4 separate regions of the Homo sapiens genome follow, and regions 2, 3 and 4 are each linked to region 1. Evidence: promoter capture Hi-C in 16 types of primary human blood cells and fetal thymus (Javierre and others, 2016). All regions are on one chromosome and are shown on one strand. The core of a region is centred on a gene start or on the middle of the fragment in contact, and the rest is flanking DNA. Distances in the headings are between cores, read along the strand shown. Region 1 holds the start of ADIG (adipogenin). Region 2 overlaps DHX35 (DEAH-box helicase 35). Region 3 has its middle 94 kb from the start of DHX35. Region 4 overlaps DHX35 (DEAH-box helicase 35).

What was found. Contacts are between HindIII fragments. The CHiCAGO score rates a contact against its expected background, and 5 or more counts as called.
Region 2: a contact is called between a fragment that was not itself captured here and the fragment with the promoter of ADIG in region 1, in 1 of 17 cell types (naive B cells). The highest score is 5.7, in naive B cells.
Region 3: a contact is called between a fragment that was not itself captured here and the fragment with the promoter of ADIG in region 1, in 1 of 17 cell types (naive B cells). The highest score is 6.8, in naive B cells.
Region 4: a fragment that was not itself captured here is called in contact with the fragment with the promoter of ADIG in region 1 in 1 of 17 cell types (naive B cells); the score reaches 5.3 in naive B cells.

Annotation. Positions count from the first base shown.
Region 1 is chr20:38,579,562-38,582,848 of GRCh38, reverse strand. ADIG (adipogenin) reads right to left here and starts at 1,652. Exons shown (of 3, transcript NM_001393816.1): 1 at 1,475-1,652. The coding sequence starts at 1,598. The HindIII fragment of the contact is 6,378 bases long and covers 1-2,422 here.
Region 2 is chr20:39,031,541-39,034,721 of GRCh38, reverse strand. DHX35 (DEAH-box helicase 35) reads right to left here. Exons shown (of 22, transcript NM_021931.4): 21 at 405-516. Among named protein-coding and RNA genes, the nearest start is that of DHX35, 71 kb to the right of the region's middle. The HindIII fragment of the contact is 9,869 bases long and covers 1-3,181 here.
Region 3 is chr20:39,054,334-39,057,579 of GRCh38, reverse strand. No RefSeq gene overlaps it. Among named protein-coding and RNA genes, the nearest start is that of DHX35, 94 kb to the right of the region's middle. The HindIII fragment of the contact is 2,192 bases long and covers 163-2,354 here.
Region 4 is chr20:38,993,837-38,997,375 of GRCh38, reverse strand. It overlaps DHX35 (DEAH-box helicase 35), which reads right to left. Exons shown (of 22, transcript NM_021931.4): 8 at 2,496-2,555. Among named protein-coding and RNA genes, the nearest start is that of DHX35, 33 kb to the right of the region's middle. The HindIII fragment of the contact is 2,149 bases long and covers 681-2,829 here.

The DNA.
Region 1 (3,287 bases), core at 403-2,902:
TAAGACTCTGTTTCAAAAAATAAAAATAAAAAAAAAAGGATGATATCTGAACTCATATCTTCCAGACTCCAGAGAGACAACTTTTATCGCCAGTATGCAAACAAGGCTGACTCCCTACCAGCTGTGGGGCCCAATGCCTAAACCGTGCCCCTCAGGGAGGGCTGTGGTCTACCCTAGGACTATGAGGAGAATATACTTTAAATAAACACTTTCTAGAAACAAAAGGACATCCCAAGTTCTTGCCAGGAACTCCCAATAATTACATAATTATAAGCCCCTACATTTGAGATCATGGGGCTAGCAGGGGTGTGGGGAGGGACTTCTCACCCTGCCTCAACAACATCTGACCATTGCTGGCGGCATGTGCTGCGCCCTCCCTGCCTAGCTTGCCAAAGGTCATGGCACTCAGCAGCAGGAGGTAGGAGGTCAAGTGGTCCCCACGAAGAGGCCTTTTTTTGACACAGGGTCTCACTCTGTCTGCTGGAATACAGTGGTGTGATCTCGGCTCACTGCAGCCTCGACCTCCCAGGCTCAAGCAATTCTCCCACCTCAGCCTCCTCAGTAGCTGGGACCACAGATGCATGCCACCACACCTGGCTAATTTTTGTATTCCTTGTAGGGACGTTGCCCAGCCTGGTCTCAAACTCCTGGGCTCAAGCAACCTGGCCACCTTGGCTTCCCAAAGTGCTGGGATTACAGGTGTGAGCCACTGTGTCCAGCAGGAAGAGACCTCTTGCTGAAGGGGATGCTCAGGGAGACACATGCCAGAGGAGCAGAAGTCCCACTCCTGCCACACAGCCAGGCCATATCCTGATCCAGCCACCCCCAGCTTCCTCCACAGCCAGCTTCGTCCCACCTCTTGCTCCTCTTGGTGGCATGCTGAGGTCAGGGTGAATGTCAGCTGGCTTCCATGAGCCTGTCTCCCAAAGCAGCCAGATCCTTTCTGATACATGGCTTAGGCAGAAACAGTGAGTGGTCTGCAGGTATCTGAAAAATGCCTAAGGCTGCTGTATCCCATCGTGCAAGCTGTTTACTGCACAAAAGCAGCCAATTGAGAGGGTGAGCGGGGCTGAAATCCAGCCCACGCTCTGCTCACAGAGCCTTGCACCCCAGCTGAAAGGGGCACCTGGAAGTTCATCTGCCTGGAGCGATAACCTCTGATTTGTTCAAAAGATCACTCTCGAACTCTAGGTTCAAACTCTAGGACTCACTCTCAAACTCTAGGTTCAAACTCTAGGACTCACTCTCGAACTCTAGGTTCAAACTCTAGGACTCACTCTCGAACTCTAGGTTAAGAAACCCTAAACAACCAAACCAATCCTTTCCACTTAAGAGTTGACTGCTTGTATCTAAGCGAGCACTTAAAATGACTGAAGGAAGCCCCTTCTGCAGTTGTTTCAGGACACACTGGCCTATTTGGCCCCCTGCCTAGCTCCAGGATTAGGGTCCTGCCTGGACGGGGTAAGAAGCTCACCTTGGCTAAGTAAGAAGCGTAGCCAGATGATCAATAACAACAGCAAACCCACAGGGAGGCAGAACCAGAAAACCAGGAAAGAAAATGTGAGGTCGTTCACCAGCGGCATCAAAGGGTACTTCATGGCGCATGTGTGGCTAAGCTGGGCCAGCCTGGGCTGGGCTGGCAGGGCTGCCCCATGGGACCTGGCAGGCTGGGCCATGCTCTGCTCTCAGCCCAACTGTGACTAAGCTGTGACATAACAAAGAAGTCACAGTGTACTTCAGGCAAAGCATGCAGGGGACACTTTGAGGGAGAGCTGTTCTGGATGAAAGGGTGGGAAGTGAGGCAGTGAGACAGACAGTCTGGCTGAGAATTAAAAAGCCCAGGTTTCCAGGCAGGCCTGGGCTTGAATCTCAGTCCAGTAGCTATTGGGTTCATGACACCCCTCTGACCCTTTTTCTTGTAAGATGGAGATAATTCTGTTAAGTTAGAAAAATAGATGGGACAAAAATTACCCCCAGGATCGGTGTTCATATATCTGAAGTCACAGACCCCCTCCAGGAGCCAGCTGGGTCCCCAGGTCCTGTAATACCAGCTGTGGGTGCCCACGTCCACACTTGGTGGGGGTGCTGGGGACTGCGGCAAACTGGATGCAGCTTACTGCATCCTAAGCATGCAGTGATGGCAGCTCCAACCAATAACTGCTACAAGTGAAATGCAGGTCCATTATTGCAGGACTCCTAACTTTCCCAAGACAGGCAAAAAGTCTGGATTTCTGTGAAATCTCCCAAGTTTAAAATGTCGGATCAGACCTTGTCAAAGCACTGTTGGCTAAACAAAACGTCTGCCAGGCTGGATTGGTCACTGGGCTGCCACTGAAAACTTTTAAAATCTAACACATAGTAGATTATTCTAATTATTACTAGATTAAATGACTATAAATGATTATTACTTAATCTGAAAGCTTGTGCCTCTCCTTATTAGGGTTTTCAGTGAGGGGCTTCTAACGACTTGAATCTTGTTCCTTTATCTCCTGAGTGGCCAGAACACTTCCACATGTCATCCTCATCTTCTCCTATCTGTCATCCGTTCACTCATCAAGTATTCAGTAAACCTCCATGTGCCAGACCATGGCAGAAAGGAGGCTTCGGGCTTCCCACTGGAGTGGCTGCTGCATGGTATTCTCCAAGAGGACCCTTGGACCACCTGCCTGTGACTGCCAGCAGGTGGGTGGGTGCTGGAGTGTATTTATTAAACATGCCAATTCCCAGGCTCACCTTCGTCTCCTCAGACCTCTTGGGGGTGGGGGTGTGGCTTGGGATTCAACACACTGATAAGCAACTAGAATGATTCTGATGCAGGCTTGATTTTGAGACTACAGCATCTCATGACTTAAAAGCACCTGTTGAAAAGGCAAACCAGGTCCAGGCGGGGGAGCAGCTGCAGGAAGGGGGTGGTAAACTTAGGGAAAAACATGGAGTAGAAAACCCCCTTATAGGAAAAGACACCGATTCAAGGAGAAGGGCGCATGGGGCCAGCAACAGGAAAAAATAAGAGCATGGGAGGGGCTGGGAGAGCTGGGGCATGGTTTCAAGAGTCCTAGCCCAGCTGTGGGAAGGCCAGAATTCCTACAAGAGGAAGTCTGGGAAAATGGACTAGAATGAGTGTCCAAGAGGAGCAGTGCTCTGGCAGGGTGCTCCTGATGCAGGGCCCAGAGGCCAAGAGAAGGAGGAGCAGGTGGTCTGGGTTGGGGGTGATTCCCTGGAACTGGGTCCTGAAGGGGCTGCGGTCAGAGAGAGAGCTGAGCAGCATAGCTGGGAAAGGCTTGAGC
Region 2 (3,181 bases), core at 653-3,152, 450 kb before region 1:
CCAGCTACATGGGGGCTAAGGCAGGAGAATTGCTTGAATCCGGGAAACGGAGCTTGCAGTGAGCCATGATCGTGCCACTGCACTCCAGCCTGGGCGGCAGAGTGAGACTGTCTCAAAAAAAAAAAAAAAAATAGTTTGGAAGAGCAAAAGGAGAAAGAAAGCGAGAAAGCGATACCTTTTTTTTCTTATGAGATTAGGGGGATTTATTTTTAATTGCACTTCACTATGAATTAAACGCTAGAGTGCTTTCCCAGAATGTTTTGGGGATATGGTAATGGCCTTTCCACCCTATGCACCCCTAGGGGGAACACACATAGGGCATTAAATTGGAGAAAAAAAGTACATTTAAAAACATGGAGAGGCTGTGAACAGGTGGCTGGGGCACAGACTCAGTTCATTCCTACCGTTCCTTGTTGATAAAAGTGTGGAGCCAGCTCCAACAGCCAGGCCGATTCAATGGCAGTCACATCTCTCATGTAGTACTTGGAGGTCTGTATAACTTCGTTATAGATGACCCTGAAATGAGAAAGAAACATGAGCTAATTTCCCCCTCTTGTGATGACAGTCAGGAACCACAGGTAGACATGCTGTTTCCTTTAACCTTTAACAGGTTCTACTCTATGTGCCAGACACTGTGCTAAACACATGCATTTATGTTGCTCACCACAGCCTCAAGACCTAAGTGCTGGGTAATGGTGTGTCCATTTTTCAGATGAGACTCTAAATCCTCAATGACTTCTGGAACATCTCAGTTATCCGCGAAGGACCTTTCTGGATCCTTCATCTGCATTTACAGAACTCTGAACTGAGCCTAATGACTTTATTAGAAAATGCAGAAATGGAGGCAAAGACTTGCCTGATTCTGAAAGAGGCTGGGAACTGACTGTAAAGAGACACAAAGGAATTTTCTAAAATGATAACAATATTGTATAATTTATGTGGGTCCAGGTTACATGGGTATACACATTTGTCAAAACTCATCTTGCACTGTAAATAAATTATACCTTTATTTAAGGGAAAAAATGTTTCTAAGGCTCAGGTAATAGACAACCGAAGAGCCAAGAGCATAACATCCAGTCCCCTGATTTTAGGTGTGCATATGAGTAGATATCAGTTTCTGAAACATCCAAAGTGTTAATTCAGGGCTTCCCATGTTATAAACATACCAGCCATACTGTGGTTCCCCACCCCTCAAAAACCAGTAAGTGAATCTCAGCTGATCAAAGGAAAAAGAAGGGCCCCCCCTGCAAAGAGGCCGTGACTGGGGGGCACTTTCTTTGCCACCTGAATGGTATGGCATGGCTTCAGGCTGGCTCTATTTCCCCAACCTTTCTTTGCCCTTCAGAGCTCCTTAGGAATGAAGCAAGAAAAAGAAAAGCCTTTCTCCTTTAAGCAACTCCCAAATTTAACCACCCAAAAGTCAGCAAAAAAAGGATCTAAAATTGAGGTTTTGCATCTCTCTTGATTTAAAAAAAAAAATTTTTTAAAGGCAGGGTCTCGCTCTGTCACCCAGGCTAGAGTGCAGTGGTGCAATCATGGCTCACTGAAGCCTGAATCTCCTGGGCTCAAGCGATCCTCCTGTCTCAGTCTCCTGAGTAGCTAGTACTACAGCCACGTGCCACCATGCCTGGCTCATTTTTTTTTTGAGAGTTGAGGTCTGGCTATGGCACCCAGGCTGGTATTGAACTCCTGACCTCAAGCAATCCTCTGGCCTCAGCCTCTCAAAAGTGCTGAGATGACAGGCGTGGGCACTCTTCAAATTATCCTGCACACGAGTGTGCGTATCCTGACCACATTAGTGTGGTCACTGGGTAACATTTCTAAACCCAGAACCGACCAAGGTGCTTTCAACCTAAGCAACTTCTAGGTCTGCAGTGGCTACAGGATAAATCCGATTCCTTGGTCTAGGGAAACAGAACTCAAACTTTACTGCCCAAAAGAAACATCTGGAGGGCTTGTTAAAATGGAGTCCTAGGCCCTAGTCCAGTTTCTGATTGAATGGGACTTGGCATGGCCTGAGAAGCTGCATTTCGTACAAGTTTCCAGGTGATACTGATGCTGGGCTGGAGACCACATTTTGAAAGCTGCAATTCTAGGGTACAAAGTGTTTGACCACAGACTTTCTTGCCTTCAAATCTACCGCTATCTTCTCTCCCTCTCTTCACACACACCCCACCCTTTTTCCCAGGGCTTCTCCATCTTCCAATTGGAGAAGGACAAGTTGTTGTCGTCTTTAAAATTTCCAATCTGGGCCAGGCACAGTGGCTCACGCCTGTAATCCCAGCACTTTGGGAGGCTGAGGTGGGCAGATCACCTGAGGTCAGGAGTTTGAGACCAGCCTGGCCAACACGGCAAAACCCCGTCTCTACTAAAAATACAAAAATTAGCTGGGCATGGTTGCATGCACCTGTAATCCCAGCTACTCAGGAGGCTGAGGCAGGAGAATCACTTGAACCCCGAAGGTGGAGATTGAAGTGAGCCAAGATCACACCACTGGGCAACAGATTGAGACACTGTCTCAAAAACACAGAGTGAGACACTGTCTCAAAAAAACAAAATCCAATCCATGGTTGATCAGTACTTTTAATCAGTACTTTTTATTGGTAAAATACAATATAAATGAATTCTAGAAAAATGAAATTGTAAACAAGAAAAATATAAGCCCCCAATTTTTATTATTAAATTGGACAAACATAAACTTAACCATTGAAATGTTATAAAGATGTCTAAAGGCCTACTCTAGACTTCTGTGCTTACCTCTTTCTTCCTAGGCAGTGTTACAGAGCAGCACCATTGCATGGGCCACCCATACCAATGATTCCCCACTTCCCAAACGCATGAGGTTCCTTTATGTTCCATGGCTCTGCCCCTGCTACTTCTCTACCTAGAATACCCTCCGGGTCCTTTCTGACTGAACACTCTTGTTTCCAGGTTCAGAATGAATGTTATCTCCTCCATGAAGCCTGCCCTGACTCTCACTGGCACATGATGTGCTGAGCCCAGCACTTCATCCATGCTGCTAGTAAAGCCCTTCCCCTAAGGTAGTTGACTCTGTGTCTGTCCCTATGTCAAAACTGTGGGCTGGGGCCGGGTACAGTGGCTCATGCCTGTAATCCCAGAGCTTTGGGAGGCCGAGGTGGGTGGATCACCTGAGGTCAGGAGTTGGAGACCAGCCTGGCCA
Region 3 (3,246 bases), core at 9-2,508, 480 kb before region 1:
TTTTCCTAAGGACCTAGAAGCTCAGAGGAAAGCTCACATTCCTCCAGGGACACAGAGTGAGTAGGGTCCCTCTTCCACATGACAACCCTCATTTCTTTGAGGACGGCATCCTACCCCCCAGTATGAGTTCCCCAGGGCTGCCGTACCAAATGGCCACAAGCTTGGTGATGTCAAACAACAGACATTTCTCCTTCTCACACAGTTCTGAGAAGGAGGGCAGTCCAAAATAGAGGTGTTGGCCGGATTGGTTCCTCCTGGAGGGTCCGAGAGAGAACCTGTCCCATGCCTGTCTCTGAGCTCCTGCAGCCGCCCGCAGTCTTTGGCATTTCCGGCTTGCAGCTGCACCTCTCCAGTCTCTGCCTCTGTCTCCACAGCAGCTTCTCCTCTGTCTATGTCTTTTCCTCTTCTGCATTTAGGGCTTACCCAGATAATCCCAAATGATCTCATCTTAAGATCCTTAGTTTAACTGCATCTGCAAGAACTCCTTTTATCTTTTTTTTTCTTGTTCTTTTTTCTTTTCTTTTTTTTTTTTTCTTTTTTTTGAGACAGAGTTTCACCCTGCCGCCCAGGCTGGAGTGCAGTGGCACAATCTCAGCTCACTGCAACCTCCACCTCCCAGATTCAAGCAATTCTCCTGCCTCAGTCTCCCAAGTAGCTGGGATTACAAGCATGTACCACTAAACCTGGCTAATTTTTGTATTTTTAGTAGAGACAGGGTTTCACCATGTTGGCCAGGCTGGTCTCAAACTCCTGACCTCAGGATATCTGCCTGCCTTGGCCTCCCAAAGTGCTGGGATTACAGGTTTGAGCCACTGTGCTTGGCCATTCCTTTTTCAAAAAAAAAAAAAAAAAAAAAGGCTACATTCACAAGTTCTCAGTGGACATATCTTTTGGGGCAAATTATTCAACTCAACGCACCCTCTAAGTTTTCTATTCTTCCGACAGAATGGTCTCAGTCCTCCTGCCATTCCTCAGATGGTGAAATGTCAAGGCTGCTCTATTCCCACTGGTACTGATGCGATGTACCCAATTGTCCCAAATACCAGCAGACATATCTCCATCTCTCCCACCAAAATGTCACACAAACACTTGTCAAGAGCCAGCTGAAGTTTCAAAACACTCTTCATCAAATTTCCTTGAGCTACAAGGGGCAGCATTAAGAAAAGAAAGCACTCAGGCCCACTTAGTTCTGCCGTTGACTGTGGTGAGCTTTTCCACTACTCTGAGCCTTGGTTTCCTTGTCTGAAACATAGGGACAATCATACCCAACTCATATATCAATGCTCCAAGCTCTCGAATAATCTCTTGTCTCACCTTAGGCTTCACATTCTTCTTAGCAAGGCCCTTCCCAGTTCAGACTCCCTGTATCGTCCCCACTCCACTGCCTCTGCCCTTTCAAGACCCTTGGCCCCTTCCTGGGCTATATCTGCTGTAGTGTCCTGGTTACAGTGCTACTGATTGAAGAAACAGAGGCCCAGACAAGCTCATACTCACAAACAGAGGCTGGTCCAAGACCAGCAAACAAAGCACAGATGGCCTCATGGCCCAATGCAACTGCCTTCACCCCTGCACCTACACCAATGCTTCCCAACGTTCTTCACATTATGGCACACAGAGAATGTGATAAAATCCGTAAGATTCACTGGGTACACAAATGAAGCTGCTCTGGTCCAAAGGTCCCAGCCTGGGGGCTCCACCAGGGCCAGACCTCCCCAGCCTCTTACCAAAGGCAGAGGGGATCTGTACCCCAGCATCTTTGGAGCCCATCTGCCATCCACCTTCAGGGCAAACACAGTGACCTGAGTGTCTGTGTCACCCAGTCCTCCAGAAGAGGAACTCAATTGGTCCTTTGCCAGCCTTGGACCTGAGAGTTCCCCTCCCAGAGAGATTTCCCCAAAATTGACTGAGAGCCAGTGCAACAGAAAGAGTTAAGGAGTCTACTTAAGATGTGAAATTAGCATGTCTACCAGTACCTATAGTTTCTGAGTTTTTTTGTTTTTTGTTGAGACAGGGTCTCGCTCTGTCATCCAGGCTGGAGCACAGCAACACGATCATAGCTCACTGCAGCTTCAAACTTCTGAGCTCAAGTGATCCTCCCGCCTCAATTCCCAAAGTGCGGGGATGACAGGCATGAGCCACCGTGCCTGGCCAGTCGCTGGGATTATCATTGCTGATATTCCTTAAGGAAGAAGGCGAGGGAAGTAAATGGGGGAGACACCGAAGATAATGTGCTGGATGCAGAATTCAGACATTGAAGAGGACAAGAGAAGACGTTTCTTCTTGGTCACTCTCATAACAGTTTCACTGGTCCTTAGGGTGGAGGGGTAGGGAATTACTACCAGAACAAGGAAGCTTATGGCTTTTTGTTTTCATAGTATACACCACGCTTAGGATACAGTCATTATGTTGAGCACCCACTAAGCCTTGGGCACTCTGCATGCATCATCCCCTCCCCCATATCAACCTCTCCTAGACCCAATACAGTTCACTGAGGGTGCAACCCTAAGCAAGGCAGGCCAGCCCTGCCCTCCGAGAGCTTCGCCTCTCAGGGAGCAGACCAAAAGGTGCAAATAAGCACATTGATAAGGCTGATATGGATTAAATGGCTTTATCATGTATTGTTATCTATATTGTACACTATATATTATTTATTTACATATAGTTAGCATCCATGTAGCTAAAAATAATAACATAATAAAGCAGAGCAAGAGTATTGAGAATGCAAGGGGTATTATTTTAGGTAAGATAGCAGGAAAGACCCCTCTGAGGAAAGGATATTTGAACAGAGATCTAAAGGATTGAAAGTGGGAGCCAAAGAGAGAGCTACAGGGAGAGCATGCCAGGTGGAGGGAACAGCAAATACAAAGGATCAGATTAGAATGTGCAGAAGAATTACTCAAGACATTTTTTTAAATGCAGATCCCTTGGCCCCTAGACTCAGAGATTCTGGTTCAGTAGATCTGGGAGGCACCCAGGAATTTCCATTTTTATATATCTCCAGTGATTCCAATGCAGGTGTTTCAATGACCACATTTTAAGAAAATATAGTTTTATATTTCTCCCATGGTTTCGATCCTTGATCATTCTCAATGACTTTGTTCTGTGCTTTTATAAAACCAAAAAGGCTTTGGGGGTTTAAGGTCTACACACCATAAAGTCAGAGCCTGGTATATCCTCCCAGCCCCTTCCAATGCATCCATGCACCCTTCAGCAATCAAGAGAGCAGATGATTCCCAGCCAGGGGAT
Region 4 (3,539 bases), core at 506-3,005, 410 kb before region 1:
AATCTGGCCAGGCGTGGTGGTTCATGCCTGTAAATCCAGCACTTTGGGAGTCCAAGGCGGGAGGATCACCTGAGGTCCGGAGTTTGAGACCAGCCTGGCCAACATGATGAGACCCCATCTCTACTAAAAATACAAAAATTAACCAGGCATGGTGGCTCATGCCTGCAGTCCCAGCTACTTGGGAGGCTGAAGCACGAGAATCACTTGAACCTGGGAAGCAGAGGTTGCAGTGAGCTGAGATCACACCACTGTACTCCAGCCTGGGCAAGACAGTGAGACTTGGTGTCAAAAAATAAATAAATAAATAAATAAATAAATAAATAAATAAAATGAATCTAAGAAAAGACTTGGACATTATAGTTTTCAACATAATAAAAACTGGAATAATTTTTAACTTAATTTAATAATTTTTAAGGTGGGGGGTGAAAAAGAGATACAGATGTTCTGTGTAATGTAGCCACAGAGGAGCTAACTAGAGGTGAAGTCAGCCACAGTCCACAAAATAGCATGCCAGCAGATACCATGGGTGAGGGAGATGACAATTAAACAGGGCAACAGAGGAGCTTTAACCCAAAAGTTACCATGGGCAGACCTAAAACAACAGACTCCTACAGCCTGTGGAAAGGTCTGAGAAACCAGTCTCGGGACACGTTGGACATTTACCTTCGCTATGGTAAGCTTTCTCTCTCTCCAAGTTGTTCTGTATCCCAGAAGCCACAGGGAGACTAGGAGCCAGGAGCCAGGGACCACATCTCACCTGGATTTCAGAACTGGCCTCCTTACTAGAGACTCCATATCTACTCTCATCTCCTATACACAGCACTCAGAATGATCTTTATAGAGCTCAAACATGATGAAGTCACTGCCCTCTCTCACATGTTCCCATGGCTCCCAACCAGATACAGGATGGAGTTCATCCTCTCTGGCTGAGCCTCTAAGGCTTTCCGTCATCTGACCCCAACCTCCCCATTTTAATCTTCCATTACTTCCCAGTCAGTCAAAATTCATTCAACCCAAGTGCCTACTCTGTGCTAGACATTGTTTTAGGTGGAAGAGATAAAATAAGACAAAGTCCTGATCTTCATGGAGCTTATATTTTAGTGACAGGAGACACACAATAAACAATGCATATAATGTTAAATAGTGATAGACAAGTGAGAAACATAAAAAAAATCAGAATAAGGGAATAAAGAGCAACTGGGGTGCTGTTTTAGAGAGCGCCTCTCTGAGGAGATAATAAATGCTCAAAACTGGAATGAAATTAGGAGAGAACCTTAGGCTGTCCGGGGAAGGAATGGTCTAAAAAGAGGGTTCCTCCAGAGCAGAAGCATGCCTGGGTTGTTTTGAGGAACAGCAAGGAGACCAGTGAGGCTGAAATGTAGGGAGCACTGGAGAAAGTGGAAGAAGATAAAGTCAGAGAGGGAGTTCAAGGGTAATTCACCCATGAGGGCCTGGCAGGTAAGATAAGACTCGAAGCTCCATGAACTCATGGTCATGTCCCTGTGATTTCACTTATATTTAGGGTGCCCTTCCCCACCTTCATCCATCTGGAAAACGGCTGTCCATCTTTCAAGCACAGCTGGTAGGTCACCACCTCTGCGAAAGTTTCTGGACACCCCCCAGCTGGCTGGAGTTAAGGGCTCCCTCCTTAGCTGCCTCAGAACTTTGAACACACTGAACTGCAAACATCTATTTCTGCATGTAAATATAGTAAGTGGTCAAAAGTATTTGTTGAGTTGAGCTGCTGTTTAAACTATAGGTCCACAAGAGAGAAAAATAATGTAAACCTAGCCACAGAAAACTTTAACATGGAAATTATTATATATACAGGAGAAACTTTTTTTTTTTTTTGAGATGAAGTTTTGCTCTTGTTGCCCAAGCTGGAGTGCAATGGAGCGATCTCAGCTCACTGCAACCTCTGCCTCCCAGTTTCAAGCAATTCTCCTGCCTCAGCCTCCCAAGTAGCTGGGATTATAGGCATGTACTACTACGCCCAGCTAATTTTGCATTTTTAGTAGAGACGGGGTTTCACCATGTTGGCCAGGCTGGCCTCAAACTCCTGACCTCAAGTGATCCACCCACCTCAGCCTCCCAAAGTGCTGGGATTACAGGTGTGAGCCACCGTGCCCAGCCCAGGAGAAACTTCAATTGCACAGAAAAATCTAAATCTATACAGTATAGTCATAAATAAACAAATTCAAGAAATACAGGCTTATACTGAAAAAACAACAAAAAGAAGCTGTGTAAGTGGGGAGAAAGACAGTATGTAGATAAACAAGACAGGTAGGTAATTATGAGCTCAATTAATTACAGTCTAATTTCACAAGCTGAAAAGGAGTAACCTCTGATTATATGAAATCTAGGACATCAGATGGTCCCATAAAGAAGATAGGGCATTCTGCCAAAGATAAGCTCTTGCTAGAGGTAACTTCCCAAGGATATATAGGACAAAAGTGTTTGTGAGGAGAGGAGGAAAGGGGAGGCAAGGCTCTTACGTCTGCATCCAGAGTGGCTGAAGCTACAATCAATCGAAGATCCCCTCGCTTTTTCTGAATCTAAAAAAGAAGACATTTGGAAATAATGATAATAGTGCAACACTTATGGATGAGATCATTTGATATCTGAAATGTATTTCAAAAATTCAGTGTCTTTTTTTTTCTTTTTTGCCTGAGGAGGAGGTAAGGGAGCTTACAGATGAAAGGACTGACTACAAATTAATAATTGTCAATAAAGGGGGGGGGGGGTCATTACACTATTACTTCCAATTTTGTAAATGTATGCAATTTTCCAAAGTAAATTTTTTTAAATTATAAAAACTATAAAGAAGCTTTAAGACCCAAATTTGAATTTACTGAGAATAAAACCATTTTTTCCTGACACCTGGGTCTCAAGATAGTTTGAATCTATGTATGAAAAAGTATATTAAAAGCAAACAAACAATAAATGATAACACCAAGACAGAAATATGGCAAAAAAAAAAGAGATAAAAGATATTAACAGTTACTCAAAGAAACACATAATCAACAGGCATTGGAGAAGTGACCAAATGAGCTACAGCTAAGATATATAATAACAATGAGATTTTTTTTTCCCCATCTATCCCATTGGCAAGGATTTATTTTTTTAAGGCTAATACTCAGTGTTGGCAAAGATTCAGTGAAATCGGCCCTCTTATTATACCGTTCCTGAAAAAGGTAATAACATGGTACAATAATTCCCTTAAAGTATCAAAAAATCTAAATCTTTGGCAATGGAATAAAATAACAATGAAAATAATAATAATAACAACTAATACAGACTAACTTATGTGCTAGCCCAGAGGCCCTGCATACAGGTACACAGTGTACCCACTGTGCAAAGATGCCTGGCTGAGGGGGCTAGGGGCTTCAGCAATCCGGTCCACCTGCCTCCCACCTAGCTCTAGACATCCTCCCAGAGGGAACATCTTTTTCTAATTTGCACAAAAGAACCTCACAGTCTAGCTGTGACCCTATGCCAGGCACCAACCTAAAAGTTTTTTGCTATCTTACTTAAGCTTC